Linked DNA regions of Homo sapiens: all the other regions are linked to region 5. The links are contacts of gene promoters, found by promoter capture Hi-C in blood cells and fetal thymus (Javierre and others, 2016). All regions are on one chromosome and are shown on one strand. Each heading gives the region's core, a stretch centred on a gene start or on the middle of the fragment in contact. The rest is flanking DNA. Distances are from core to core; before and after follow the strand shown.

What was found. The method cuts DNA at HindIII sites, captures the fragments that hold promoters and counts their contacts. A CHiCAGO score of 5 or more calls a contact.
Region 1: a contact is called between a fragment that was not itself captured here and the fragment with the promoter of MTCL1 in region 5, in 1 of 17 cell types (M1 macrophages). The highest score is 5.1, in M1 macrophages.
Region 2: a fragment that was not itself captured here is called in contact with the fragment with the promoter of MTCL1 in region 5 in 1 of 17 cell types (total B cells); the score reaches 5.7 in total B cells.
Region 3: a contact is called between a fragment that was not itself captured here and the fragment with the promoter of MTCL1 in region 5, in 2 of 17 cell types (naive B cells and fetal thymus). The highest score is 5.3, in naive B cells.
Region 4: a contact is called between a fragment that was not itself captured here and the fragment with the promoter of MTCL1 in region 5, in 3 of 17 cell types (endothelial precursors, naive B cells and megakaryocytes). The highest score is 6.7, in endothelial precursors.

What each region holds. Positions count from the first base shown.
Region 1 is chr18:9,037,619-9,040,395 of GRCh38, reverse strand. No RefSeq gene overlaps it. Among named protein-coding and RNA genes, the nearest start is that of NDUFV2, 64 kb to the left of the region's middle. The HindIII fragment of the contact is 3,394 bases long and covers 1-2,777 here.
Region 2 is chr18:9,187,526-9,190,225 of GRCh38, reverse strand. The region is part of intron 2 of ANKRD12 (ankyrin repeat domain 12); the gene reads right to left. Among named protein-coding and RNA genes, the nearest start is that of ANKRD12, 52 kb to the right of the region's middle. The HindIII fragment of the contact is 181 bases long and covers 1,231-1,411 here.
Region 3 is chr18:9,096,717-9,099,416 of GRCh38, reverse strand. No RefSeq gene overlaps it. Among named protein-coding and RNA genes, the nearest start is that of NDUFV2, 4.6 kb to the left of the region's middle. The HindIII fragment of the contact is 374 bases long and covers 1,210-1,583 here.
Region 4 is chr18:9,012,227-9,014,926 of GRCh38, reverse strand. No RefSeq gene overlaps it. Among named protein-coding and RNA genes, the nearest start is that of NDUFV2, 89 kb to the left of the region's middle. The HindIII fragment of the contact is 2,563 bases long and covers 52-2,614 here.
Region 5 is chr18:8,704,306-8,707,033 of GRCh38, reverse strand. It overlaps MTCL1 (microtubule crosslinking factor 1), which reads right to left and starts at 1,478. Exons shown (of 15, transcript NM_001395333.1): 1 at 321-1,478. The coding sequence starts at 1,373. The region is part of intron 1 of GACAT2 (gastric cancer associated transcript 2); the gene reads left to right. RefSeq lists silencers at 1,254-1,313, 1,694-2,133. The HindIII fragment of the contact is 5,801 bases long and covers 1-2,728 here.

The sequences.
Region 1 (2,777 bases), core at 97-2,596, 330 kb before region 5:
AGAGCTGCCATTTTAATAGTTTTTTTTTCTTTTTTTGAGACAGAGTCTCGCTCTGTCGCCAGGCTGGAGTGCAGTGGCGCGATCTTGGCTCACTGCAACCTCTGCCTCCCGGGTTCAAGTGATTCTGCCGCAGCCTCCCAAGTAGCTGGGACTACAGGCACCCAACACCACGCCCAGCTAATTTTTGTATTTTTAGTAGAGATGGGGTTTCACCATGTTGGCCAGGATGATCTCGATCTCTTGACCTCGTGATCCACCCACCTCAGCCTCCCAAAGTGCTGGGATTACAGGCGTGAGCTACCACGCCTGGCCAGTTTTTTCTTTTACTGTGGTGTCTGTCTCATTTTGGCATCAAGATAATGCTGGCTTCATAAAATGAGTTTGGAAGTGTTTTCTATTGTCCATCATTTTGTTGTTAACCTTTCTAATTTAGTATATACAAGAAGAACAATGCAAAAAATCGTACTGATGCTGAAAGTTACTAAGTAAAACCTGCTAAAATGGCACCTGGGTACTGTTGCCATGGGGACAGGCTAGGAGAGGAATGAATGTAGCTTGAATTCTTAGAAAGACAATATTGAGTTGCTCTTCAGTAAACTTGTGATGAAAATACCTTAAATGTGGGCACTTGGTTGCTATTTTTTAACAAAAACAAACAAAAAGTGGCAGCAGCATTAACAAGGACAAAGAACATCACCAAAATCCTAAATCAAATAACTTCAGCTCAGTTGACCTTTGATTTGTGTGCACTTGTTCCTTATGATAATTACCTAAGTTCTTCTGCAAAGCAGTGAGCCTGGGGGCCATGACATCTAACGTGGTTGCAAATTAAACCCTCACTCCCAACCCAGCCTCCTCAGCTTCTGTCTCTGAAGAAAATACGGGATTTACCTAACATCTCTTCAAATAGTGTATATTGAACTGGAAGACAAAAAAGGAATTTTGCATGTTAAGCTGCAGCTGGCATAAGAAACACATTCATTCTATCAGAAAATTGGGTAATCTGGATTATAGTCCTGGCTTTGGCACTGCCATTGGCATAGCAATGTATTTGTGTGTGTGTGTGTGTGTGTGTGTGTGGCGGGGCGGGGGGGCAATTTATAAGTATCTGCAGTTCTCAGCCTCCACCTTCCAAGGAGGAAGGGTGCTTTGTACAGACTGGAGTTGTATTATGCATATCCCTGAAAGGATGAAGTTGAGAGAGTTGGATGGAGCTGAAAATGCCAAAACAATTTACATTTGAAAGAAACAAATACAATATTCCTCAGAGAGGACCGGTTCTGAACAGATGAAAGGAGGAATAAAAAAAGAAACCAAACCAAATGAAGCTGATTTGGAGAGATGGAAAAGTATAGGGAAGAAAGGACTTTTTTTCTTTTTCTTTTCTTTTCTTTTCTTTTTTTTTTTTAAAGACAGGGGCTTGCTCTGTTGCCCAAGCTGGAGTGCAGTGGCATGATCTTGGCTCATTGCAACCTCCGCCTTCTGGGCTCAAGTGATCCTTCCACCTCAGCCTCCTGAGTACCTGGGATTACAGGCGCAGGCCACTAGGCCCGGCTAATTTTTGCATTTTTATAGGACAGGGTTTCGTCATGTTGCCCAGGCTGGTCTCAAACTCCTGGGCTCAAACATTCACCCGCCTTGGCCTCTGAAAGTGCTGGGATTACAGGCATGAGCCACTGCTCCTGGTGGAGAATTTCTTTAAGTTTACATACAGTGGAATGCACCCATTATAAATGTACTATCTGATGAGTTTTGACAATCGTACTGTTAAAATCATGGGAGGCCACTATTTTAGTCTGAACTCCTGTGCTAGGCCCCAACAGACCAGACCAAACCAAAATAGAGTCACTTATGCTAAATGCCACATAATCAAACTGAAACTTCAAGGAAGCAAGCAGATAGATCCCCAAACAGACCAGTTTTTCCTGAGAACAGGAGATTCCAGTCTACCTGAGTCAGCATAATAAGGCAGTCTCTCTGCTTTAACCTTTAGAAAAAAAGTAATGTGATATTAATCAGTGCTATTGTTCTGTTTCCTTGTTTTCATCTTACAAACCCCAGTGTTCTTCCTTAGCTCGGTGGGAGCTCTCATCCTATTTTGTAGAACGGAGGCTGTCCCAATTCACAAGTTTTGAACAAAGCTAAACAGCTTTATAACCAAATTTGTTATAATTTTGTCTGTTGACAGTATACAGCTATGTAATTACTACTGTGACTAAGATGAGCATTTCTGTCACTTCACAAAAGTTCCCTTCTGCCCAGTCTTCTTTCTGTCACTAAAGGTTAGATTTGTCTTTTCTCATTTCATATTAATAGAATCACACAGTATGTACTATTTTGTGGCTTCTTTTGCTCATTGTAATATTTTTGAGATTCATCTGTGTATCAGTAATTTGGTCCTTTTCATTGCTGATGTGTTTATTGCAGGGATATATACAACTTGTTTATCTATTCATCTACTGATAAACATTTGAGTTGTTTTCTGTTTGGGACTATTATGGCTAACGCTATGATCATTAGTATACAGATTCTTGGACATCAATTTTTATTTCTCTTAAAGAAAATACTTAAAACTGCAATAGGGCTGGGCGTGGTGGCTCACGCCTGTAATCTCAGCACTTTAGGAGGCTGAGGCGGGTGATCACCTGAGGTCAGGAGTTCAAGACCAGTCTGTCCAACAAGATGAAACCCCGTCTCTACTAAAAATACAAAAAATTACCCAGGCATGGTGGTGGGCGCCTGTAGTGCCAGCTACTTGGTAGGCTGAGGCAGGAGAA
Region 2 (2,700 bases), core at 72-2,571, 480 kb before region 5:
CTTGATTCTCATTCTCTTGCGTTTTCCAATCCCATCTACAGTTAGTTCCTCCACTAAAGTCTTGACCCTCTCAGTCATCCATGAGTGTTAGAATCAACTTTTCCAAACTCTGGTTAATATTGGTATTTTGACTTCCTCTCATGAATCACAAATGTTTTTAATGGCATCTAAAATGGTGAATCCTTTCAAGATGGTTTTCAATTTTTTTGCCCAAATCCATCAGAGGAATCACTCTCTATGGCAGCTACAGCCTTACAAAGCATACTTCTTTAATAAGACTTGTTTAAAAAGTTAAAATTATTCCTTGACCTATGGGCTGCAGAATGGACTGCATGTCAGCAGCCATGAAAACAACATTATTCTCTTTGTATGTCTCTGTCAGAGCTCTTGGGTGACAGCTCACTGACATGTTGTCAATGAGCAGTAATATTTTGAAAATAATCCTTTTTTCTTAGTAAGTCTCAACAGTAGGCTTAATCTATTCAGGAAACCATGCTGTGAACAGATGTGCTGTCATTAGGCACTGTTTTTCCATTGATAAGGTACAGGCAGAGTAAATTTCACGTAATTCTTATGGGTCTTGGCGTTTTTGCAATGGAAAAAGAGCACTGGCTTTAACTTAATAGTTGTCAGCTGCATTTGTCCCTAACAAGACAGTGAGCCTGTCCTCTGAAGCTTTGAAGCCAGGGATTGACTTCTCCTCTCTAGCTTTCAAAGTCCTACATGGTATCTTTTTCCAATAGAAGGCTATTTCATCTATACTGAAATCTGTAGTTTAGTGTAGCCATCTTCATCAAAGATCATAGCTAGATCTTCTGGATAACTTGCTGTAGCTTCCACATTAGCACTTGGTGCTTCACCTTGCACTTTTATGTTATGGAGACAGCTTCTTTCCTTAAACCTCATGAACCAACTTATGCTAGCTTCAGACTTTTCTTCTGCAGCTTCCAAACCTCTCTCAGCCTTCACAGAATTGAGGAGAGGGCCTTGATCTGGATTGAACTTTGGTTTAAGGGGATGTTGTAGCTGGTTTGATCTTCTATCCAGACCACTCCAAACTTCCTCCATATCAGCAATAAGACTGTTTTGCTTTCTTATGGTGTGTTCACTTTAACAGCACTTTTAGTGTTCTTCAAGAACTTTTCCTTGGCATTCCTCTCTTGGTTAACTGGCACAAGAGGCCTAGCTTTTGACCTCTCTCAGCCTTTGACATACCTTCCTCACTAAGCTTAATCATTTAGAGCTTTTGACTTAAAATGAGAGACATTCCACTCTTCACTTGAATACTTAGAGACCACTGAAACACAACAATTTCAAAATTGTTGTTTTAGGAAATAGGAAGGCCCAAGGAGGGGCGGAGTTGGGAGAGAAGCCAGTAAGTGGAGCAGTAGAACACATACAACATTAAGCTTGCCATCTTTTCTGCATACAGTGTGGTGCCCACAAAACAACTACAACAGTAACAAAGATCACTAATCATCATCATGATAATGAAAAAGTTGGAAATATGAAAATTATCAAGATGTGACATAGAGACAAGTGAGTACATGCTGTTGGAAAAATGTTGCCAATGAACTTGCTCAACACAGGGTTGCCACTAACCTTCAATTTGTAAAAAGCACAATTATCTGCAAAGCACAATAAAGTGAAGTGCAATAAAATGAGGTATGCCTGTAAACCAAAATGTTAATAGCTATCTGTAGGTGGTGCCATTACAGCTGTGTTGGGACATAATTCTCCATGTCTCTCTTGCATTTTTGCACATGTTGCGAGCAGACACACTAATTTCCTTTGTCCTGGACTATCTTTTCATGGGTATTTGTATGATAAACAGCCTCGAAAGACAGAGGTAGTGTCTCCCTCTAAAGCTAAGGACATACCTGTTTGCTGTCCAGTGTAATAATGTCTCCTTCTAGGGAAAAGTTCAGGCAGACTTACTGCCCATCATAAAAGATTTGGGGTTCCTACCCTGTAATACAACCCACTGCATATGCAGTTGTCATCTGCCCATCACTGCATCCCCCTTGTGAGAAGCGAGGCTCAGGGAACAGGCACAAACAATGATACTCTGGCTACTGCTATTGCTGAATAGCAAATATTCCTTCATCACTGACCTAGGAATTGTGTCTTCTGCCAGCATCCATGAAGCTAATTAGCTTACAAGTAGGGTAAAATCTCAGAACCTTCACAGTTGTTGACAAGGTAATAGGTAATTTCTATTTTCATTATTCTTATATGTATTTTCTAATTTTTTACAACAAACATGTATTATAATACTTGGATAATAAAAGAAAAAATTCTCAATAGTCACTTGGAGAGGAAATAATGAATGTCTGAACTACACTGATGACGAAAAGGATATAACAGAACTATTCAGATGGTTAAAATAATTAATATCCCCTCTCTCACATTTTATGAATTTAACCAGGTTTTAGACTATCTTAACAGAGTTTATAAAAGATTCTGCTTTGCAAATTTTAAATACTGATTTATAGCTAAAAGAGTAGTGGAGACATTTCTAAACTAAACTAGAATCAATGGGGGGAAAAGACCACAGATGAGCAGTGAAAGGTGTGAACATTCTTGTCAAAATCCTAACTATTTTAATATTTAATGAGAGGACTTTACATAAAAATTAAATTGCTATAAAATACAATTACTTAAGTTATGCTCTACTTAAATGAATTTAAGGAGTGAAAT
Region 3 (2,700 bases), core at 147-2,646, 390 kb before region 5:
CAGGTGTAACGTTTATGTAGCAAGGGGAAGGCTGGTCTCCCAACCCTAATCTTATTATACAAATGGGCTTTCCACTTGGGCAGTGCCATCTAGTCTGCTCCTTACTGTACACGTTGCTGGCAAAAAGAGAAGATGGGGCCGCCACTTTGAACATGCCTCATCCCAGGTAGTATATTCCTATGGGCACAACTGCCAGAATTCACCTGTGCAAGCTCCTAGTTTGCTTGTCTGTCTGCAGCTCGATTTTACAGGCTGCTCTTTGTTAGAAAAGAAAATGATTGGCGGCTGCTTTTTATTAAAAGGGAAACCTTACTGAGGACTCCCATACCCTCACTATCTGCCTAAGCAATTTCTTCTTAACTCCTGTATCGAAATGAGTTGATACCTTTTAAAGTTCTTTAAAAAGTACCTAGCACAGAGTAAATGCTTAGTAAGTGTTAGCCTTCATCATCATCATCACCATCATCAGAATAGAACATTACAATATTAAGATAATTAAGCCACTAATCAGAAAGGAGAATGGAAGGGCTAGTTTGGGGCCCATTAGCTCCTGAACAAAATAGCTCTGCCAGCAAGGAAGGGGCTGAAGAAGTAAATCTAGGTAGGCAACTAACGGGATCATCCACAGTAGACCACCGTCTTTTTGAGTTCATGACCTATAGAGAAAGTGTATATCCCACTGGTGCCTGACACTAATCAAGGACTTACCAGGTGCCCCCAATTTCTATTACCTAGGAACAGAACCAAAAAGTGCAAAGAGTAATGTTTAAAACATTAAGGATGTGTGCTAAGGGAGTGTCTAACCTGTTAACACCTTCTTGAAGATGTTACAGAAAGTAAGATGCTTTTAGTTCAATTCAACTTTATTTCAATTCAACTGCCAGTAAGTGTGGCACCACACTGTTCACCAAGTCAAAAGACTTGTTAATGTCCAGCATGACTTTGGCTTATCCTTAGCCCAAATATTTATTAAGTGAGAATGTCAGAATGGATATCTTTTACACCCAGTAACGTAAGTTAATTTCTGGAGCCACTCCACTTATAAAGTAGCCTCATGTGCAATCAACTATTCTCAGAGTCCTTAGGATAGAATTGTGGGGGCTGTTTGGAAAATTCCTCTTCTTCCTCCCACTATCAAAGTCATTATTTCTGGACACAGACCAGCATGGACATCGATGATTTCAAGTTACTGACCTAACCCTACAAGCTTGATTGAAATTGGCTTGATTATGTAATGAACCCATAGTGAACATCATGGCTGCCTGGTTTGATATATTCCACTATTCTAAGTTGGCACTAGTACCATAAGCCCAGGGAAATTGGCCCTAACTATAGTGGTCAAGCCATTAAATAAAGAATGTGTGGGTGTTGGGGGTGGGGAGTGAGGGACTGGAGGCTGGGGGAGCTAGAATAAAGTCTACAGGGATGACCAAATGTGGGAACTTTGACTCTCTCATTCTTGATTTCTTAGCCATTTAAACCATCACACATAGGCACTATCAAGGACGTGGTGTAATGAAAATCATGAGCTTTGTAATTGGATTTGAATTCTGACCTCGTCACTTACTCGCCTTTGTGAAGCTTTGGTTCTCAGTTTCTGAAAGTATAATTAGAACATTAAATCATTCAGTTTATGGAAAATGATGAACATGGTGCCTGGTACACAGTAAGAGTTCAGAAAAGCTTTGGGTTTTTGTTTTTGTTTTTTGTTTTTTTTTCAGTATCTAACAACTTGTCTGCTCCATCTATGGAACACTTTAGTCAGGCTTTCTAAATTGTGATTAACTCCTAAGTCACATCCTACTTATTAAAGCAGCCACAGGTAGATCGTGCACTCTGGCTCTCAGCATGCCCTCACATAACAATACTGACGTGCCTGCCTTGCTGGGTTTTCTAATGAAAAATGTGAGCTGCAGGCCCAGTCCTGCTTTGCAGGGAAAGGGAGCCAGTTGGTATAAAGTCAAAACTCAATGGAAGGGAAAAATGGGATAAGGTTACTGCTGGGTGAGAGACAGAGAGAGAGAGAAGTATTTCCAGCAGGAAATTGGAGCATGTAAAGAAGAATGATCCGGTCACATTGGTAAACTGAAGTGTTAGACCCATTTCACATTGAGGTGAGGGGGGACGTGAGGTTAGCGAGTGAGTTCTGCATGATTCTTTCAGATTCTTCTCAAGTTATTCTTGCATATTCGAGACCAAAAGGGAAAATGAAAATCAAAACAGCCAGTAACTTAATTACATAGACTTCAAGAACAGATTGTTTTAAAAAAATAATATAAGCAGAACGTCACCTAAGCCATTATCAGATTCACATCGCTCGTTACTTCCCCAACATGGGACTGATCCTAGCAGCTTCTGCAGCTGAAGTGAAATTTTCTATCAGAATTTGATCCATGCTTCCCTAGCAAGTAGTCAAAGTAATTAAACAACAATGAATGTAATTCTTGCCTGATAGATTTGCAAATTGCTGATCACTGTTGTTGGTAATGTGTGGAGCTACATGCTCTCATTGGTGATGGTAGGAGTGTGATAAGATCAGCCTCTGGAGAGGGTAATTTGGCAATATGTGTTCGGTTTCTTAATATGAATTTATCCTAAGGAAGTAACTGAAAAAGTATACAAAAATGTTTATCATGGTGTTATTTGTAATACTGAAAACCTGGAAGCTATATAAATGACATCGGTAGAGAATTTATTAAA
Region 4 (2,700 bases), core at 84-2,583, 310 kb before region 5:
GGCTGCATGGAGCCATTGCTCTTGGAATGGCGCAAGAAGCCATGGGAAGCTTGAATGAGCCATTTATCTGTCAGCTTCTCCCATCTCCCAACTCTCACTGGTCCATGTTCCTTCCTTGGGGTGTTATCTCCCCCATGTTTCTGAGTGTGTTACTCTGTGTTCCTCTGGGCAGCCCCCCGGGGCAGTCAAAGCCCGTGGGGGTCTGCTTGACTCCCACCTGGGTGCTGGGGCTGTAGCTACAGAGGACGTAATGGTGGTCATGTTCCTCTGCCAGGGGAGGCTGAGTGCTGGGTGGTGGTGTGGCAACTGCACCTGCTCCTGGAATAAGCAGCAGAGGCACAGACATCAGGTGGGGACAAGCAGATCTCAGAGGTGCACCTGCTGGTATGGTGCAGTACTTTTATGCTAATGGACAACGGGATATCTTCCTTAGGAAATTGTATTTGTATTTGTTGGGAAATTACTACCATATACTGATTTTTGGTAGTACAAGATATGTTGCTTCCATATGCCAGGAAACTGTCACGATAAATACACATGACATGCCTACAATGTGAAAAGTCCCCTTAGGTGTAATGTCCTTGTGCAGTATTCAACAATGTACAACTGTCCATGGCCTTGAACTGGCCTCATGGGCCCAGTATAAGAGTAGGCTGCCATAGAAAGGTCTCTCCACAAAGTTCATTCACATTTCAATGGAGAGTTGACTTGTTGAAACTGAACACAAAGCTCTTCAGGTTTGCCCCAGAATTCTGGAAGGTGAATCTCCAAGTGGGAATAGATAATGAATGAATGAATAAAATAGTCCAGTCACAGAGATGCCTTCTTTTTCTCATTCCTCTCTATCACCCAAGAACAAAGTAAAGAATTGTTTCCTAGTGTTCCCTGGACGCATGAAACTTGACAACAATGCGGCAAGGTGGTAGGCCTTATTTTTCATGTTTTTTTTTTGTTTGTTTTGTTTTTTTTGTTCTTGAGACAGGGTCTCCCTCTGTCACCCAAGCTGGAGTGCAGTGGTGCGATCTCGGCTCACTGCAACTTCCACCTTCCAGGTTCAAGTGATTCTCCTGCCTCAGCCTCCCAAGTAGCTGGGATTACAGGTGTCTGCCATCATGCCTGGCTAATTTTTGTATTTTTGTAGAGATGAGGTTTCACCATGTTGGCCAGGCTGGTCTTTAACTCCTGACCTCAGGTAATCCTCCTGTCTCGGCCTCCCAAATTGCTGGGATTACAGTCGTGAGCCACCTCGCCCGGTGTAGGTATTATTTTCCATGTTTTTTTTTTTTTTTTTTGTGAGACAGGGTCTTGCTCTGTCACCCAGGGTGGAGTGCAGTGGAGCCATCACAGCTCACTGCAGCCTAGACCTCCTGGACTCAAGTGATCCTCCCACTTCAGCCTCCCAGGTAGCTGGGACTACAGGTGTGCACCACCATGTTGGCTAATTTATGTATTTTTTTTTTTGTAGAGACAGGTTTTGCCATGTTTCCCACTCTGGTCTTGAATTTCTCAGTTCAAGCAATTTACTTGCCTCAGCCTCCCAAAGTGCTAAGATTACAGGCGTGAGCCGCTGTGCCTGGCCATTTTTCATGATTTTACACATGAGGAAACTGAGGCCCAGAAATGTTAATCTGGCAAGTGTGTGATCGTAGCCAAGATCAGAAAAGGCAGGTCTTCTGATCTGAATTCAAGTAGTGTGAGTTACACTAAATCAACTTTTCTCTTGATAAAACAGCTAAAAGCTCAGTCACTTACCCTGGATCATTCATATCATCTCTATAGTGTCATCTCCCTACTTAAAGGCCATCTTAGCAATCATTATGTCAGATTGTCAAGATTCCCTAGTTTTCACTCATTCATTCATTCCTTCATTCCTTTATTCACTTCATATGTGCTATGGTTTGGATACGGTTTGTTTGGCCCCACCAAATCTCATGTTGAAATTTAATCCCCAGTGGAGGTGGGGCCTGGTGGAAGGTGTTTGGATTGTGGGGGAGGATCCCTCATGGATGGGTTGGTGCCTGTCTGGTGGGAGTGAGCGAGCTCTCACTCTTAATTCCCAAGATAATCGGTTGTTGAAAAGAGCCTGGCACCTTCTCCTCTCTGTCTGTCTGTCTCTCTTTCTCTCGCTTCTTCTCTCACCATGTCGTCTGTACATGCCAGCTTGCCTTTGCCTTCCACCATGTGTGGAAGCAGCCTGAAGCCTCACTAGAAGCAGATGCTGGCACTATGTTTTCTGTACAGCCTGCAGGACCATGAGACAAATAAACCTCTTTTCTTTATGAATTACCCAGCTTCAGGTATTTTTTTAAATAGCAACACAAATGGACTAAGACAAGTATTTACTGAATTTCTGCTACTATGTGCCAGACTCTGTTCTCTAGATAAGTAAATAAATATGATTTTCATTGCTTTTATGACAGAAATAATGTGGAAATCATGTAGGCAATTCTTCTTAGCCAATGAGAGAAAGAATAGACTCATAAGATTACAGTGGAAGTACTCCATCGGTGGTCCCGTTTCCATCAGTTTTCTAGGTTGGAGAGAGGCAGAAGACATGAATTTTCTGGAAATGTTATAGAGACAGAGGCAATAGACAGAGACAGGACAGGAAGCTTAATGAGGGTCTTAAAAAAACCAGAACAGGCCAGGTGCGGTGGCTCACGCCTGTAATCCCAGCACTTTGGGAGGCTGAGGCGGGCG
Region 5 (2,728 bases), core at 229-2,728:
CCGCTGATGTCCCCAAAACGATTACAGCCTCCTCTGCCCCAACAGGTCAACAAAAGTAAAAGTATCAGCGAAGAGACGCAAGAGTTCTAGACGCGAGAAAAGAGAAGTGGGTTGCGAACTGGCGGGGTCCCACAGGTCTTGCTTCTCCTTCCAGAAGTTTGGGCTTAAGTTGCCAATGCCTGACAATGCGGGGGTAGGACCGTGGAGAGCAGGAGGGAGAAGGCGCTGGACAGGCCCGGGAAGGAGGGGTTGGCGGGTCCCCGCCGCAGCCAGGCCCTCCGGGGGCGCCCCGGGACACCTGCGGCCGAGGCGCGGCTCACCTTGAGATAGTCGTTCTCCGAGCGCAGCTCCTCCATCTCCCGCAGCAGCTCTTCTTCCTCCGCCGCTGGCACGAGCCGAGACTGCTCGCCCAGGCTGGGCTCCTTGGGGGTCCCGGGGACTGGTCGCTCCGGTGGCGAGCGCCCCCGGACATCCTCCGCCACGCCGGGCCCCGCGAAACCCCCCGAAACCCCGCTCGGGATGCTCCGGCCCCCGGGACAGGCGCCCGCGGCGAGGGGCGCGGCGAGGAGCGCTGGGGGCTCGGGGCTGCCCGGCGGCGCTCCTCGGGCTGCGGGGCTCGGCGTCGGCGCTCCTCGTGGGGGTTCACGGTCGCTGGAGCCCGTGCCGGATTCGGCGTCGCTGCTGGCGGCAGGGAGCAGGCGCTGCTCGTCGGACAGGGGTTCGGAGGGGCAGTCAGAGAGGTCGGAGCTGCTGTCCGTGTGGCTGATGCGCGAGCAGCGGGCCGGGGACCCGGCCACCGAGGTCACCGCGAGGGTCACGGCAGGGATCCGGGCGGCCGGGGTCGGGGGGCCGACGGTGCGGGCGGGTGGCGCCCGGGAGCCGCGCTTGGCTTTGCGGCCCTTGGCAGCGGCAGACGGCGGCTCGGCTCCGGGAGGCTTCCCAGCCCGGGACAGCGGCTCCGCGGGCGCCACGCGCGCCGCCCTCCTGCTTCCCAGGGCAGCCTTGGCACCGCCCGCCGCTCTGGCCCCGGCGCCCGGCGGGGGCTTGTCCTTCGCGCCCGGGACGCCGCCACTGCGCCGAGAGAGGCGGCCGGGCGCGGCCAGGGACCCCGGCGAGGGCGGCGCTTTGCCCGCGAGGTTGGGCGAGCGCGGGGCGGCGGGAGCCGGGGCTCGGCCCGAGGAGGGGACGGCCGGGCCGGGCGCGGCGGGCCGGGCGTGCAGGTCCTTGAGGAAGGGTCTGGCGGGCGAGGGCGCACGGTGCAGCCGCCGCCTTTCGGCCACCGGGTGGAGGTGGTGGTGGCGGTGGTGCTGGCCGGGCGGCTGCAGCTTCGCGTCCGGGGCACCTCCGCCCGCGGGGCCGTTCAGTGTCTCCATGGCCGGGTCCGCCGGCAGCAGCTCAGGCAGCAGATGCTCCGGACGACGACGGCGGCGGCGGCGGCGGCGGCGGCGTGCAGCCTCCCCGCGCGCTCTCTCATCACTGTCCCAGCCCCGCCCGGGCTGCGCCCCGCGCTCCCGCCGTCCCCGCCCCCCGCACCCCGGCCCCGAGGATTCCCGCGGGGCTCGCCGCCGCCGCGCTCGCCCCTCGCTGAGGTCACCGCGGATCGAGTTCTCCCGGCTCAGCAGCGCGGCGGCTCCCGGCCGCTCGCATCCCCGGACCTCGCGCTCCGGGCTCGCGGTCACCGGTGCCGCGGCGGCGCTGGCGGCGCGCGCCCGGCTCCCGCGTCCCGCTCCCCGCCCACCGCCGGCCCGCTGCTGCCCGTGCCCGCCCCCGCCGCTCCCGGCTGAGAGAAGCCGCACGCGCGCGCCCCACCTCCCCGCCGCCCAGCGCCCTCGCCCAGGCCCGTGCGCATGCCCCGCCTCCAGCCAGCCGGCGCCGTGCAGGGGAGGGGCGAGGGAAGGGGCGGGGGCTTGCGCTCCCCGGGGGGCGGGCGCCCGGCAGGGGCGGGACCTGCGCGCCCTTGGGAGCAGGCGCAGGCTGGATCCATGGGGCCTCGCTGCCCGGGGACCCTCCTTGCTTTTTGAGGCCCTAGAGACGCTGCCAGGAGCTAGGGAGGAAGGGAAGAGGCGGAGGTGAAGTGGTGGCAAGGGGCGGCGCCGGCCACTTGGGGAAGGCGTGTGCCGCGGCTGACAACACCCCTCTCATGCCTCTCCATCCACCGCCCGCCTCCCCGAGGCCAGTCACCTCCCTCGCTGTCCTCTCCAAGCTGTGCCCCTGGTCCCCGAGCTCCTTTAAGGATCGCTGGTACCCGACGCAGCTCTCGCGTCTAAACGGCACGGCGGGCGCTCCACAGTTGGCACCCCCGTGGCCTCGGGAGCTCAGGAGGAGCTGCTGCCCAAACAGGAGGAGCCCTCGCCAAACCTGGGGGTCAGAAAGGGAACTCACATTTATAGTTCCGGCTGCGAGCCAGGCCTGCTGGCCACTTACTGAGCAGTGTTTTATTTAAGCCTCACCACAGTCCCAGATTGGAATTGCTGTCTTCGGTGAAGACTAGGGCACCGGCGCTGGGAGGTGAAGTCACTTGCCTGCGATGCCTCACCCAGTCCCTAGCTGAGCGGGTTTAAACCCAGGTCTTCAGGATTCCGAGTCCTGCAGGCTTTCCGCTCAGAGCCCGGAGCCCGGCCACCGGTTCTACCACTTGAGTCTCCCATGCGCAAGGCACTAGACCTTTCTGAGCCCCAGTTCCCTCGCCTGTATCATTAAAACGTACTGCCACCTGAGCATGTGTGAA